Regions from separate parts of the Homo sapiens genome. Here all the other regions are linked to region 2. The links are contacts of gene promoters, found by promoter capture Hi-C in blood cells and fetal thymus (Javierre and others, 2016). All regions are on one chromosome and are shown on one strand. The core of a region is centred on a gene start or on the middle of the fragment in contact, and the rest is flanking DNA. Distances in the headings are between cores, read along the strand shown. Region 1 holds the start of TAF4 (TATA-box binding protein associated factor 4). Region 2 holds the start of TCFL5 (transcription factor like 5). Region 3 holds the start of LSM14B (LSM family member 14B).

Region 1 (3,902 bases), core at 1,159-3,658, 800 kb after region 2:
TATGATTAACATTTGTTACAATTCCCCCTTTTCTCTTTTTATGCTGGGTGAGATTTTTCTTTCAAACTACACAAGTCCTAACTGCTTGGGGCAACAACTAAAATCACAGAGATACTAAAATTTGGCGGGAGGCCCCCAGGGTGACTCCCCACCACATGAACATTAGGAGGGGAAGTCACGTGCTGTCCTCACCCGCCTCCCCTCCCCCCCCCCCCGGAAGGCAGTGCTCCTGCAAACCCCAGACATAGAAGAGCTGCCTGGCTGTCTGCGGCTCCCACTTTCCCCAGGGCCTTCTGGTGCCCAACACCCTCCTTGCAAGGGAAGCTGGAATAGGTGGGCACAGACCCTTAACTTCTCGCAGTTCCTGCAGCTGCCAGGCTGGACGGTTCCCCAGAAGATCCTGCGAACACGTTGGAATGAAAGACTCCTGGCGGGGCCTTGGAGAAGAGGAGTCACCACTGTGCGTAGATGGCAGGAGACTCATTACAGATCTCAGTGGAGTAGCAGCGGACTTGAAGAGTGGAGGCCTGAGCGTGGGAACCTTCAGTTACCCCAGCCTTTGGGACCCTGGGGGCCTTGGAACCTGGTCTGTTTCCTGCGAGTCCTGCGTTCTGCTTCTGCCCCGACTCCAATCTGAGGGGTCTGTGGGTATGGGCTGTGCAGTGAGCCTGGTGCGCCCCACCTTGCAAGTTGTGCGTGGGGCCAGTTAGCCTGCCTGTGCTTTGACCTGCTTTAAAAATGTTCTAATTAGTTGTCAACACTCAAAAATTAAAAATCCCGAGATTTAATCATCACTTTATATTTCTGTTCTTTCTGGAAAACTCAGACTGTCCCCCTACTGAGCTCAAGGTGCTCCGTAGGTGTACCCACAGGGGCCCTCCCCGCCATACTCAGCTTGCTTCATTCATTTCCTTTCCTGCCTTCTGGGAGCCAAAGTTCAGGTACAAAACTCCAGCTGTACGTTTGCAGTGATTTCCCCCAAACACTGTTCCCCTATAGGGGAGGCACCTCTCCTAGGCTCCGTCCTCAATGCTCATTGGCTGCTGCTGCTGTCGAGAAACAAGCCTGGGGTGAAGTCCCGTATTCCAGTTATCAGTAAGTCCATTCCTTTGCAAGGCTACAGTTCGAACAGGCACAAGGGTCCAGTTCGGGTCTGCTTTCGAGACTAGCAGTCTCCTTTGTTAAAGCAATTAAAAAAATCATTTTCTTTGTCAGCAACGTCATTCATCGTCCCGAGGTCTCTGCTTATTGCGGCGCTGTCTTCAGCTGCGAAGACTGACCCTGTGGCCTCTTGGCCCCAGTGAGGTCCGAGGCAAGGAAGCGTCTCTCTGAAACCTATTCTGGGCTCTTAGGAAGAAATGAGAGAAAGGAAAACCACTAGAAATGTCCAATAACACCATCTTTTGGTTGGAAAATAAAACACGCAGAAAGAGGGGACTGGAACTTTTACTGAAGTATTTCTAGAGAGAAGGTGCTTGGGAACACTTTAGGTAACTTACTCCCCTCCCCCAGCAGAAGGTAAAAAAAGCTACTTCCAGACGTGCCGGCTTCAGGCTCGGGAACTTCGTTTGGCGCCTGGCAAGCACCGTGCTCTTACCTACGGGCTTATACGACACTCCTGTCTCCAAGGCAGCTGGGTGCGGGGACAGTCAGCCCGGGGCGGCTGGGTTTATTGATTAAAAATGGAGGGAAGGGCCAGGGGTGGTCACGATTGGAGGGCGAGAAGAGCCGTGCGCGCAGGACCCCTCCCCACCGCCCGGGACCGGCTGAGCCAGAGGCGGACCCAGCTTCCCCGCGGCGGCTTGGAGGGGCCGGGCGCCGGTCCCCGTCCCCAGGGCGCGCTGCGACAGTCCCCTCCCCGTTCCCGCCCGCCTCCCAGGCCCATCCACTCCAGGGCCTGCGCGCCGCCCGGCGGCGCCCCGGCATCCCCGCGCGCTGTTCCCCGGGCCTCGGACGGGCCCTGCGCCGCCGCTGCCACCGCGCACGGCGCCCGCCCGGCGCTCCCGTCAGCGCCGCCGCAGCCATTTTGGAGCGAGCCGAGACAAAGAGCGAGGCCCCGTCGCCGCCCCGCGCCCGCCTCGGCCCGGCCCAGCGCACCGTTCCCGCATCCCGCGCCCCGCCCGGCGGCCCCCTCCCCGTCCGCCACCGCCCCGGCGCCCGCGCCCCTGAGCTCCAGCCCCCGCGCTTCCCGCCGCTGCTGCCGCACCCCGGCCGACCGCCCGCGCCCCGGCCTCTAGCGCTCGCAGCCATTGGCCGCGCCTTTTAAGCGCGCGCCGCAGCCAATCGCCGGGCGCCCGCGGTCTCCGCGCCTGCGCAGGGCCGCCACCCCCGCTCCCCCGCCCCCCGGCCGCGCGCCCCCGCCCCCCGCCGGCCGCGCGCCGCCCCCCGCCCGCCCAGCGCCCGCCCCAGTCGGAACCTCCTCCTCGCCCAGGCGCGCTCGGCCCGAGCGGCGGCGGCGGCGGCGGCCGAGGAAAAAAGATGGCGGCGGGCTCGGATCTGCTGGACGAGGTCTTCTTCAACAGCGAGGTGGACGAGAAAGTGGTGAGCGACCTGGTGGGCTCGCTGGAGTCGCAGCTGGCGGCCAGCGCGGCCCACCACCACCACCTCGCGCCGCGCACGCCCGAGGTGCGGGCCGCGGCCGCCGGCGCGCTCGGGAACCATGTTGTGAGCGGCAGCCCGGCCGGAGCCGCGGGCGCAGGGCCGGCCGCCCCCGCCGAGGGCGCGCCCGGAGCGGCGCCGGAGCCGCCCCCCGCAGGTAGAGCGCGGCCGGGGGGCGGGGGGCCGCAGCGCCCGGGCCCCCCCTCACCGCGCCGCCCCCTTGTCCCCGCAGGGCCCGCGCCGCCCGCCGCGAAGCTGAGGCCGCCGCCCGAGGGCAGCGCGGGGTCCTGCGCCCCGGTGCCCGCCGCCGCCGCCGTCGCCGCGGGGCCCGAGCCCGCCCCCGCCGGCCCCGCCAAGCCCGCCGGCCCCGCCGCGCTGGCCGCCCGCGCCGGCCCCGGCCCCGGGCCCGGCCCCGGCCCCGGCCCCGGCCCTGGCCCTGGCAAGCCCGCCGGCCCCGGCGCCGCGCAAACTTTGAATGGGAGCGCCGCGCTGCTGAACTCGCACCACGCCGCCGCACCTGCTGTCAGCCTGGTCAACAACGGGCCCGCCGCGCTGCTGCCGCTGCCCAAGCCCGCCGCCCCCGGCACTGTCATCCAGACGCCCCCCTTCGTGGGCGCCGCCGCGCCCCCCGCGCCCGCCGCGCCCTCGCCCCCCGCCGCCCCCGCGCCCGCCGCCCCCGCCGCCGCCCCGCCCCCGCCACCCCCCGCGCCCGCCACTCTGGCCCGGCCGCCCGGCCACCCCGCCGGACCCCCGACCGCCGCGCCCGCCGTGCCGCCCCCCGCCGCCGCCCAGAACGGGGGCAGCGCCGGGGCAGCCCCCGCCCCCGCCCCGGCCGCCGGGGGCCCCGCGGGGGTCAGCGGCCAACCCGGGCCCGGCGCGGCGGCTGCGGCGCCGGCGCCGGGGGTCAAGGCCGAGTCGCCCAAGAGGGTGGTGCAGGCGGCGCCCCCGGCGGCGCAGACCCTGGCGGCCAGCGGCCCGGCCAGCACGGCGGCCAGCATGGTCATCGGGCCAACTATGCAAGGGGCGCTGCCCAGCCCGGCCGCCGTCCCGCCGCCCGCCCCCGGGACCCCCACCGGGCTGCCCAAAGGCGCGGCCGGCGCAGTGACCCAGAGCCTGTCCCGGACGCCCACGGCCACCACCAGCGGGATTCGGGCCACCCTGACGCCCACCGTGCTGGCCCCCCGCTTGCCGCAGCCGCCTCAGAACCCGACCAACATCCAGAACTTCCAGCTGCCCCCAGGTGAGTGGCCGCACGGGGCGGGAGGGAAGGGCGGCTCCCAGCAGCGCCAGCTGCCAGTTCCAGG
Region 2 (4,075 bases), core at 600-3,099:
CATCTTGGTGTAGTTTCCTTCATGTTTCTTGAGTTTGAGGTATGTTAAACTTCTTGGGTCTGTAGGTTTGTAGTTTTAAAAAAACTTTTCAATCATTATTTTTTTTTGTTGTTTTGTTTTTGTTTTTTGAGACAGCGTCTTGCTCTGTCTCCCAGGCTGGAGTGCAGTGGTGCAATCTCTACTCACTGAAACCTCCACCTCCCGGGTTCCAGCGATTCTTCTGCCTCAGCTTCCTGAGTAGCTGGGATTACAGGCACATGCCACCACACCTGGCTAATTTTTTATATTTTTAGTAGACACGAGATTTCATCATGTTGGCCAAGCTGATCTCGAACTCCTGACCTCAAGGGATCTGCCCGCCTCGGCCTCCCAAAGTGCTGGGATTACAGGCGTGAGCCACCTCACCTGGCAATCATTACTTCTTAAAATGTCTTTCTCCCCATCCTTCCACCCCCAGGGGACTTCAAATCACACTGCTTGAAGCGGCCCCACAGCTCACTGATGCTCTGCTCACTCTCTTAGCCTTCCCTCTCTGTTTTACGTTAGACGACTTCTGTTGCCATGTCCTTGAGAGTTTTAAGTCCTTGCTTTCCTCCTTGGTAGTGTTTTCTGAAACCTGATGTTTTGCCCAAAACTGATATATTATTTTCATGTATACATGTGTGAGTTTAGATTTGCATGGCTGAGCTTTCATAGCCCATCGTTGAATCATTGTAATATATTGGTCTGTGTCTAAACTGTGATGAAATGAGCGAAAGATTCAGACCCGGCTTAGAAGACGATGTGCAAGTCACAGGCCTTTAAGTGTCCTAATGCCTAGACAGAGAACAGACAACCACTGAGTGAGATGGGAATGTGGGTGAGAGGTTAAGTACAGGAATTATTTCAAGATTGCAAAAATAAGTCTCTTAAAGACCACATATTGCATAGTTCCCTTAACAGGGAAGGCCCAGCCTAGGCAAACTCCTGGACACAGAAGATTAGTGGCTGCAGGCGGGGGAGGGGCAGTGTGCTGACTGCTACAGGAGACCGGTGGTGAATGCAGCGGTGGAGGCGGGCCCAGCGCTGGGAATGTACCACCACCGTCGCGCTGTGCATTTTTTTTTTTTTTTTGAGATGAAGTCTGGCTCTGTTGCCCAGGCTGGAGTGCAGTGGCAAGATCTCGACTCACTGCAACCTCCGCCTCCCGGGTTCAAGCGATTCTCCTGCCTCAGCCTCCCGAGTAGCTGGGATTACAGGCACGCACTACCACGTCCAGCTAATTTTTGTATTTTTAGTAGAGACGGGGTTTCACCATGTTGGCCAGGCTGGTCTCGATCTCCTGACCTCCTGATCCACCTGCCTCGGCCTCCCAAAGTACTGGGATTACAGGCATGAGCCACAGAACCCGGCCATGCGCTGCGCATTTTACGCGGATGAAGCGGATGGCCTGGGCACTGTGGACTGTGGGTCCAGGGAGCTGTTTTGACAACGTCTTCATTCCTGCCGCTGTAATGGGGCGCACGTGCACGCACGGACGTGGCTTCTCCCCAGGGTGTCACCGCGTAGGTATCACGCTGATTCCAGCGCAGCCGCCCTCGCCGGGCCTCAGCGGGGAGTGGCCGGGCAGCAGGGGCGTGGCTGGGAACCGGGCGTGGCCTGAGCTGGGGGCGTGGCCTAGCTGTGGGGGCGTGGCTGGGCCGTGGGGGCGGGCCCTCCGCGCAAGCATCCGCCGACGTGGGGCGGGGCCGGGCGTGCGGGCGGTTGGGCGGGGGCGGGGCCGGCGGCGGCGGGTAACGGAGGGGGCGGGGCTGGCGCAGGGGTGGGGTTGCCGTTGCGGGGCGGGGCGGCGCAGGCGCTGTGCGCGGCACTCAGCGGTTTTCCCTCCCCCAACGGCGCGCCGGCTGTGGCCGGCGCAGAGTAGTGCTCGGGCCGGGGGTCGCCTCCCGCCTCCCGCCTCCCGCCTCCCGCCGCCCGCCGCCCGCGTCGCCCTCGCCGCCGTTGGGCCGCGCCGCGCCGCCATGTCGGGCCCCGGACCGCGGGAGCCGCCGCCGGAGGCAGGCGCGGCAGGCGGCGAGGCGGCCGTCGAGGGCGCGGGCGGCGGGGACGCGGCGCTGGGCGAGCCGGGGCTGAGCTTCACGACCACCGACCTGAGCCTGGTGGAGATGACGGAGGTGGAGTACACGCAGCTGCAGCACATCCTCTGCTCGCACATGGAGGCGGCGGCTGACGGCGAGCTCGAGACGCGCCTCAACTCGGCGCTGCTGGCGGCGGCGGGCCCGGGCGCAGGCGCGGGCGGCTTCGCGGCGGGCGGTCAGGGGGGCGCGGCGCCCGTGTACCCCGTGCTGTGCCCGTCCGCGCTGGCGGCCGACGCGCCCTGCCTGGGCCACATCGACTTCCAGGAGCTGCGCATGATGCTGCTAAGCGAGGCGGGCGCGGCGGAGAAGACGTCGGGCGGCGGGGACGGAGCGAGGGCCCGGGCCGACGGCGCCGCCAAGGAGGGCGCGGGCGCGGCTGCGGCTGCGGCTGGACCCGACGGCGCGCCCGAGGCCCGGGCCAAGCCGGCCGTGCGCGTCCGCCTGGAGGACCGCTTCAACAGCATCCCCGCCGAGCCGCCGCCCGCGCCGCGCGGCCCCGAGCCCCCCGAGCCGGGCGGGGCGCTCAACAAGTGCGTGCCCGGCGGCCGGGGGCTGGCGGGGCCCGGGTGGAGGCCGAGGCCGGGGCCGGGGCCGGGGCGGAGGCAAAGGGGGCCCTCGCTGTGCACGCCCCCAGCCTGCCCTCCCGGCGGCACAGGGCGCGGACCTCACCGGGTCTGGGGCCGCCCCGAAAGGCTGTGTGCGCTGTGCGGGCCCCGGGGAGCAGGTACTTCCAGAAACTAAACACCCCCTCCCTCAGTGGCCCCGCCTGGAGTGGGGCCGAGCGCGCAGAATTCCTGGGAACCATGTGCTCCGGGTGGCACTCTTGGATGTCAGGGAAGCCTAGGAAGGCCCGACGGGGGTTTGCAGGCTTTGAGCTCTAAAATGAGGCTCCAGCCTGCAGCCGCCCCCTTGGCGACCCTCAGGGATGGCTGTGGAAGGGGCTGCGTCCGCAGTTTTCTGCTCATCCCAGCCTGTAGTTGCCCATCGTGGTCACACTGGAGGATGGCAAAAGTGAGATTGGTGTCAGGATGTGATGAGAGCAGGGAGGTGGCGCAGTTTTGCTTTTCCTCCATAGGAAGAGGAGGACTTCCACAGCAGCGATAGTTGCTAATTGTTGTGTAGAGATTTCCAGGATGAGAGTTGGGTTGCTGTCTGGAAAAACTAGCCAGAGCCATGGGAGTGGGATGGTGGATGCTTGTCTGCCACGTATTGCTGACACTTCTGGGCTTTCTTTTGTCTTGGCAGTTTGGTAACTCTCATTCGACATCCATCTGAACTAATGAATGTTCCTCTTCAGCAACAAAACAAATGTACAGCATTAGTGAAAAATAAAACTGCGGCTACAACTACTGCTTTGCAATTTACATACCCACTGTTTACTACAAATGCTTGCTCTACTAGTGGAAATTCTAATCTTTCACAGACACAGGTAGGGAACATGATTTGTGAAGCTTTGCTCTTTTGTATTAAATGGGTAAATTTTAACTTATTTTGGTTAGGTCCCAAGTACTTTTTTTTCCCTTCAGTGAGCTTAATAACCTTTTAAGCCGGGCGCCAAGGCCGACACCTGTAATCCCAGCACTTTGGGAGGCCGAGGTGGGTGGGTCATTTGAGTTCAGGAGTTCAAGACTAGCCTGGCCAACATGGTGAAACCCCGTACGAAAATTAACCAGGTGGTAGTGGCGGACACCTGTAATCCCAGCTGCTCAGGAGGCTGAGGCGGGAGAATCGCTTGAGCCTGGGAGGTGGAGGTTGTGGTGGGCTGACATCGCGACCCTGCACTCCAGTCTGGGCGACAGAGTGAGAGCCTGTCTCAAAAAAAAAAACAAAAAAACAAAAACAAAAAAATACCTGTGAAAGTTGAGTGTTTATGTGGTATGCGAATATTTTTAAATCTTCAGTGCAACTAAAGTTCTTCAAATTACGTGTTAGTAGTTTTGATGTTTGTTAAGTGCATT
Region 3 (3,622 bases), core at 1,099-3,598, 740 kb after region 2:
GCATCTCCTACAGCATGCACAGAGGGACAGTGGCACACTTACCTGAACAATGGCGGGATCCTGCGGGAGTGTGTGCTGAGCTTTCGGAGGTTCACACACAGTGATATCCTTGATGTCACTTCCTCGGAAAATGATGTACTCATAAATCTCCTCTCTGGGGGGCGCAGGCCTATCTGTGGGACGGTCTTCAGTGCCAAAGGACCTCACTTATGAGTGGAGAAAGAGAAGCGTTATTGTTGTCCTCAGCCAGTTCAATCAACCCTGACACCACTGCTCCCAAGCCTTCCAAAAGACGGCGACACTTGCTCAGAGCCACAACACAGCACCCCAGGTCCACATTTCAACAACTACTTAATGCCCCGATTTTCAATGGACAGTGCTGATAATGCACCAATTGGTGAAGCTCCAGACAACAGACAGCTCTAGATCACAAAGATGACAAGGAACAATTTCACAGACTGACAGTCTGATGTGCGAAGGCACCAACGTACAGAGCTCTCAGCAAAACAAGGCTTGCTTCGTAAGGCCTCCCTGTTCACGTTTGACTCTGTAGATCCAACAGCCAGCCGGCTGCTTTATGCCCAAAGCCTCACCGCACATTGCGCCTGAGGAGGCAGTTTTCTCACAAAGGAATCTAGACGAGTGTTGCCCTTACCCTTCTATCCATAACAAACCTTGGAACAGCTGTAACAGAAAACAAAGGGAGACAGGGTCCCAGGATTATGGACCTCTGACCCCGGCTTCCGCATCTATAAGGAATTGAGTCTACTAACCCCTAACCAGCAGGCTTCCAGGAGCGCCCAAGTCTCTTTCTAGCAAGCCTCTAGGGGCAGAGGTGGGTGGGACAGCAGCCTCTAACTGGTAAGACACAACTCCTGCTAACTCCTGGGCCTACTCTGGGCCTCAGCTTCTCTAACTGGGCTCTCCTGTAATAAGTGTAGTGAGGTTCCATGGCTGCAAGTGAGTGCATAGCCCTGGCATACTCAACAAGCTCCTGAAGCCACGCAGGAGACGGGCTTCAAAAGGAGACACTCCCTGTTTGGAATGAGTGCGTTCTTCTACACATGAAGTTCCCTGTGACCTAAGCAGCGTTTCAGACGCGTCTAGACACTTCAAGAACCCCTGGGAGCCTAGCGCCAGATCCAGCACACACACGGGCTTAGGCAGACGTGGCTCCACGGGCACTTTTCTCTGAGAGGCAGGGGAAGTGCACTCCCCGTCTTCTCTGGGTGATGAAGACAAAGAAACTCTGGACCACCCGCTGCCTCAACAACCTCAGAGATTCTGACTCTAAAGAGCCCCCCTCCTGTAAGTCCTCCAGCGGCCACAGCCGGTTACGAGCACCCACAGGCGGCTGTCACCAAAAGGTAAGCCCCACAGTGGGAAGGTCAGGATAGAGCAGGAGAACCGTTTAAACCGGGGCATCTGGCTGCCAACGGATGCTTCTGCCTTGGCAGGAGGCCGCATTAGGACGCGGTATTTGTTCAGGATCAAGGCCCCAGCTGTCTAATAAGTTCCAGAAAGGCTTGCAGGATTCGCGTGTTGTGACCCCACCCCCAGCCTTCGGGAGACGCCGGGACACTGGCCCCGCCACCCGACCTCGAGGCTCCCCCGCAGGGATCCCCCCAGGCTGGCGGGGAGGAGGCCCGCTGACGGGAGCCGCCCTGCTCCTCGGAGCTGGCACCTGCAGAGGTGGGCTGGGCGGCCGAGGGGGCGGCACCGCGGGGGCCGGGCCCGCCCCTCACCAAACACCGCCGGGCGCCCGCGCACAATCCCGCCGCCCTGGGAGCCCAGGGAGACCATTGTGCGGCCGGCTACGCTGGGGGAGGGTGGCGCGCGGGAAGGGGGCGCCTCGGGGGCGTCCGGGGTGAAGGCGCGGGCAGGGGATCTCGGGCCGGGTGTGCCCTGGGTGGGTTCTGGGCGGGGTCTGGGCGCCAGGCTCCGGGGCGCCCCGGGGCGGGGAGGGCACCGCAGGCCGGGGCTGTTGGCGGACGGGGGTCAGCGGGCTCGGGCGGGCGGCGGCCGCTACCTTTGGCGAGCGCCACGGTGGAGTTGTCGGTGTCGATGGTGTAGAGAATGCCCTCGTAGCGGATCTGCGCCTTGGAGATGAGGCTGATCTTGCTGCCCAGATACGGGGTGCCTGAGGAGCCGCTCATGGCGGCGGCCGGGGTGCGTCGGGCCGCGGTGGGGAAGGAGCGCCGGGCCGCGGCCCGCTCCGCCGCCGCGCGGTGGCCTGGCCGCCCGCTCCTGCGCTCCTCCGCCCGCCGCCGCCTCCGCCTGGGCGCCTCCTCGCCACCGCCCGAGGGGCCTGCGCGGGCACCGAGCGAACCAAGAAGGGGCGCGCGACTGGGGCTCTGAGAGGAGCGCGGGGGAGGAGGGGCCGCCGCAGCCACATCCGGGGCCTCGCGCCGCCACGCACCGCCACGCACCGCCCCTTCACGCTCGCCGCCCATTGGCTCGCCGCGCCCGCCGTCCTTTAAATATGGCCGGGCCGCCAGCTGGGGGGCGGGCCCTCGCGTCGTTCCTGCGCAGCAAGGCGCCGCTGGCCGGGGGCGGGTCTCCCCGGCGATCCGCCCCACCCTCGGCCGGCTCCCGGCGGGCCCCTCGCGGAGCTGGGAGCACGAGACTGAGCGGGCGGGGGGAGGGGTGGGAAGCGGCCCGGGAGGAGCGCGCGTGCGCGTGGGCGGGCGGCTGCGGTTTGCACGCTCAGTGGGCGGGACCGGGGAGGAGCGCCAGGCCCCGCCCGCGCGCGTGCCGGCGCCGCCCCGGACCCTGGGCGCCGCGAACACGGGGGCTTTGCCCCCTTGGCCTCAGTTTCCCCTCCTACAGAAGTGGGGTCCGGACGACTCCCCTATCTTGGGCCAGATGCGCCTATAGCCCTCACCCTCATGGGGGACCGGGGAGTGGCGGAGGCCCTGGGCGCCGGGTGTTCCCGGGCAGCCCCGGGACTCCCGCCCCAGTGCCCAGGTGCCGGCGGGGGGCGGGCGCGGCGGCAGCTCCCGGGAAGGCGGCGCTTCCGGCGTGGCAGCCTCTAAATATAACATGCTGAGCACACTTTCTCTTTTAATCCTGCCCCTCCTCCCAAAGCCTGCCGCAGCTTTCCATTTCCCTTAAAATAAATTCTGACTGGCTACCGGGGGCCTCGGAGCCTCCGCTCGTACCCGGGGCTGCGGCCCGGAGGCCTTGCCCACCTCCCCGGCCGTGGAGGAAGCTCGGCCGCCCGCCGTCGCTTAGCTGCGGGCCCTCCTCGCGTATACTCCGCGTGATTAGTGACCGAGGGCGCGCGGTGTGTGCTTTTTTTGCTTCCGTCTTGACCGTGAACATCATCAGATCACGGACCAATATTGGGTCCTGGAAAAAAAAAGTAGTGGGTGGTGACTATAAAAATGCAATAGGCTGGGCGCGGTGGCTCACGCCTGTAATCCCAACACTTTGGGAGGCGGAGGCGGGCGGATCACTTGAGGTGAGGAGTTCAAGACCAGCCTGGGCAAAATGGTGAAACCCTGTCTCTACTCTAAAAATACAAAAAAACTAGCCGGGCGTGGTGACAGACACGTGTAATCCCCAGCTACTCGGGAGTCTGAGGCAGGAGAATCGCTTGAGCCTGAGACGTGAAGATTGC

The links. Contacts are between HindIII fragments. The CHiCAGO score rates a contact against its expected background, and 5 or more counts as called.
Region 1: the fragment with the promoter of TAF4 here is called in contact with the fragment with the promoter of TCFL5 in region 2 in 1 of 17 cell types (neutrophils); the score reaches 11.1 in neutrophils.
Region 3: a contact is called between the fragment with the promoter of LSM14B here and the fragment with the promoter of TCFL5 in region 2, in 1 of 17 cell types (neutrophils). The highest score is 8.5, in neutrophils.

What each region holds. Positions count from the first base shown.
Region 1 is chr20:62,064,387-62,068,288 of GRCh38, reverse strand. It overlaps TAF4 (TATA-box binding protein associated factor 4), which reads left to right and starts at 2,408. Exons shown (of 15, transcript NM_003185.4): 1 at 2,408-3,838. The coding sequence starts at 2,479. It overlaps MIR3195 (microRNA 3195), which reads right to left and starts at 3,487; the gene lies at 3,404-3,487. LOC105372705 (a long non-coding RNA gene) reads right to left here and starts at 1,835. Exons shown (of 2, transcript XR_936960.3): 1 at 1,598-1,835; 2 at 1-1,347. RefSeq lists enhancers at 1,119-1,632, 2,661-3,175, 3,176-3,689, 3,690-3,902 and silencers at 1,628-2,007, 2,268-2,377, 2,638-2,727. The HindIII fragment of the contact is 9,555 bases long and covers 1-3,902 here.
Region 2 is chr20:62,859,596-62,863,670 of GRCh38, reverse strand. TCFL5 (transcription factor like 5) reads left to right here and starts at 1,849. Exons shown (of 6, transcript NM_006602.4): 1 at 1,849-2,647; 2 at 3,363-3,546. The coding sequence starts at 2,001. LOC105372717 (a long non-coding RNA gene) reads right to left here and starts at 2,236. Exons shown (of 4, transcript XR_936989.4): 1 at 2,130-2,236. RefSeq lists silencers at 1,441-1,540, 1,591-1,780, 2,281-2,430 and an enhancer at 1,402-2,056. The HindIII fragment of the contact is 6,144 bases long and covers 1-3,570 here.
Region 3 is chr20:62,121,201-62,124,822 of GRCh38, reverse strand. It overlaps LSM14B (LSM family member 14B), which reads right to left and starts at 2,348. Exons shown (of 9, transcript NM_144703.3): 1 at 2,030-2,348; 2 at 43-206. The coding sequence starts at 2,156. It overlaps LOC105372706 (a long non-coding RNA gene), which reads left to right and starts at 1,139. Exons shown (of 3, transcript XR_936963.2): 1 at 1,139-1,367. RefSeq lists enhancers at 772-1,459, 1,460-2,148, 2,149-2,836 and silencers at 1,500-2,039, 2,200-3,289. The HindIII fragment of the contact is 16,298 bases long and covers 1-3,622 here.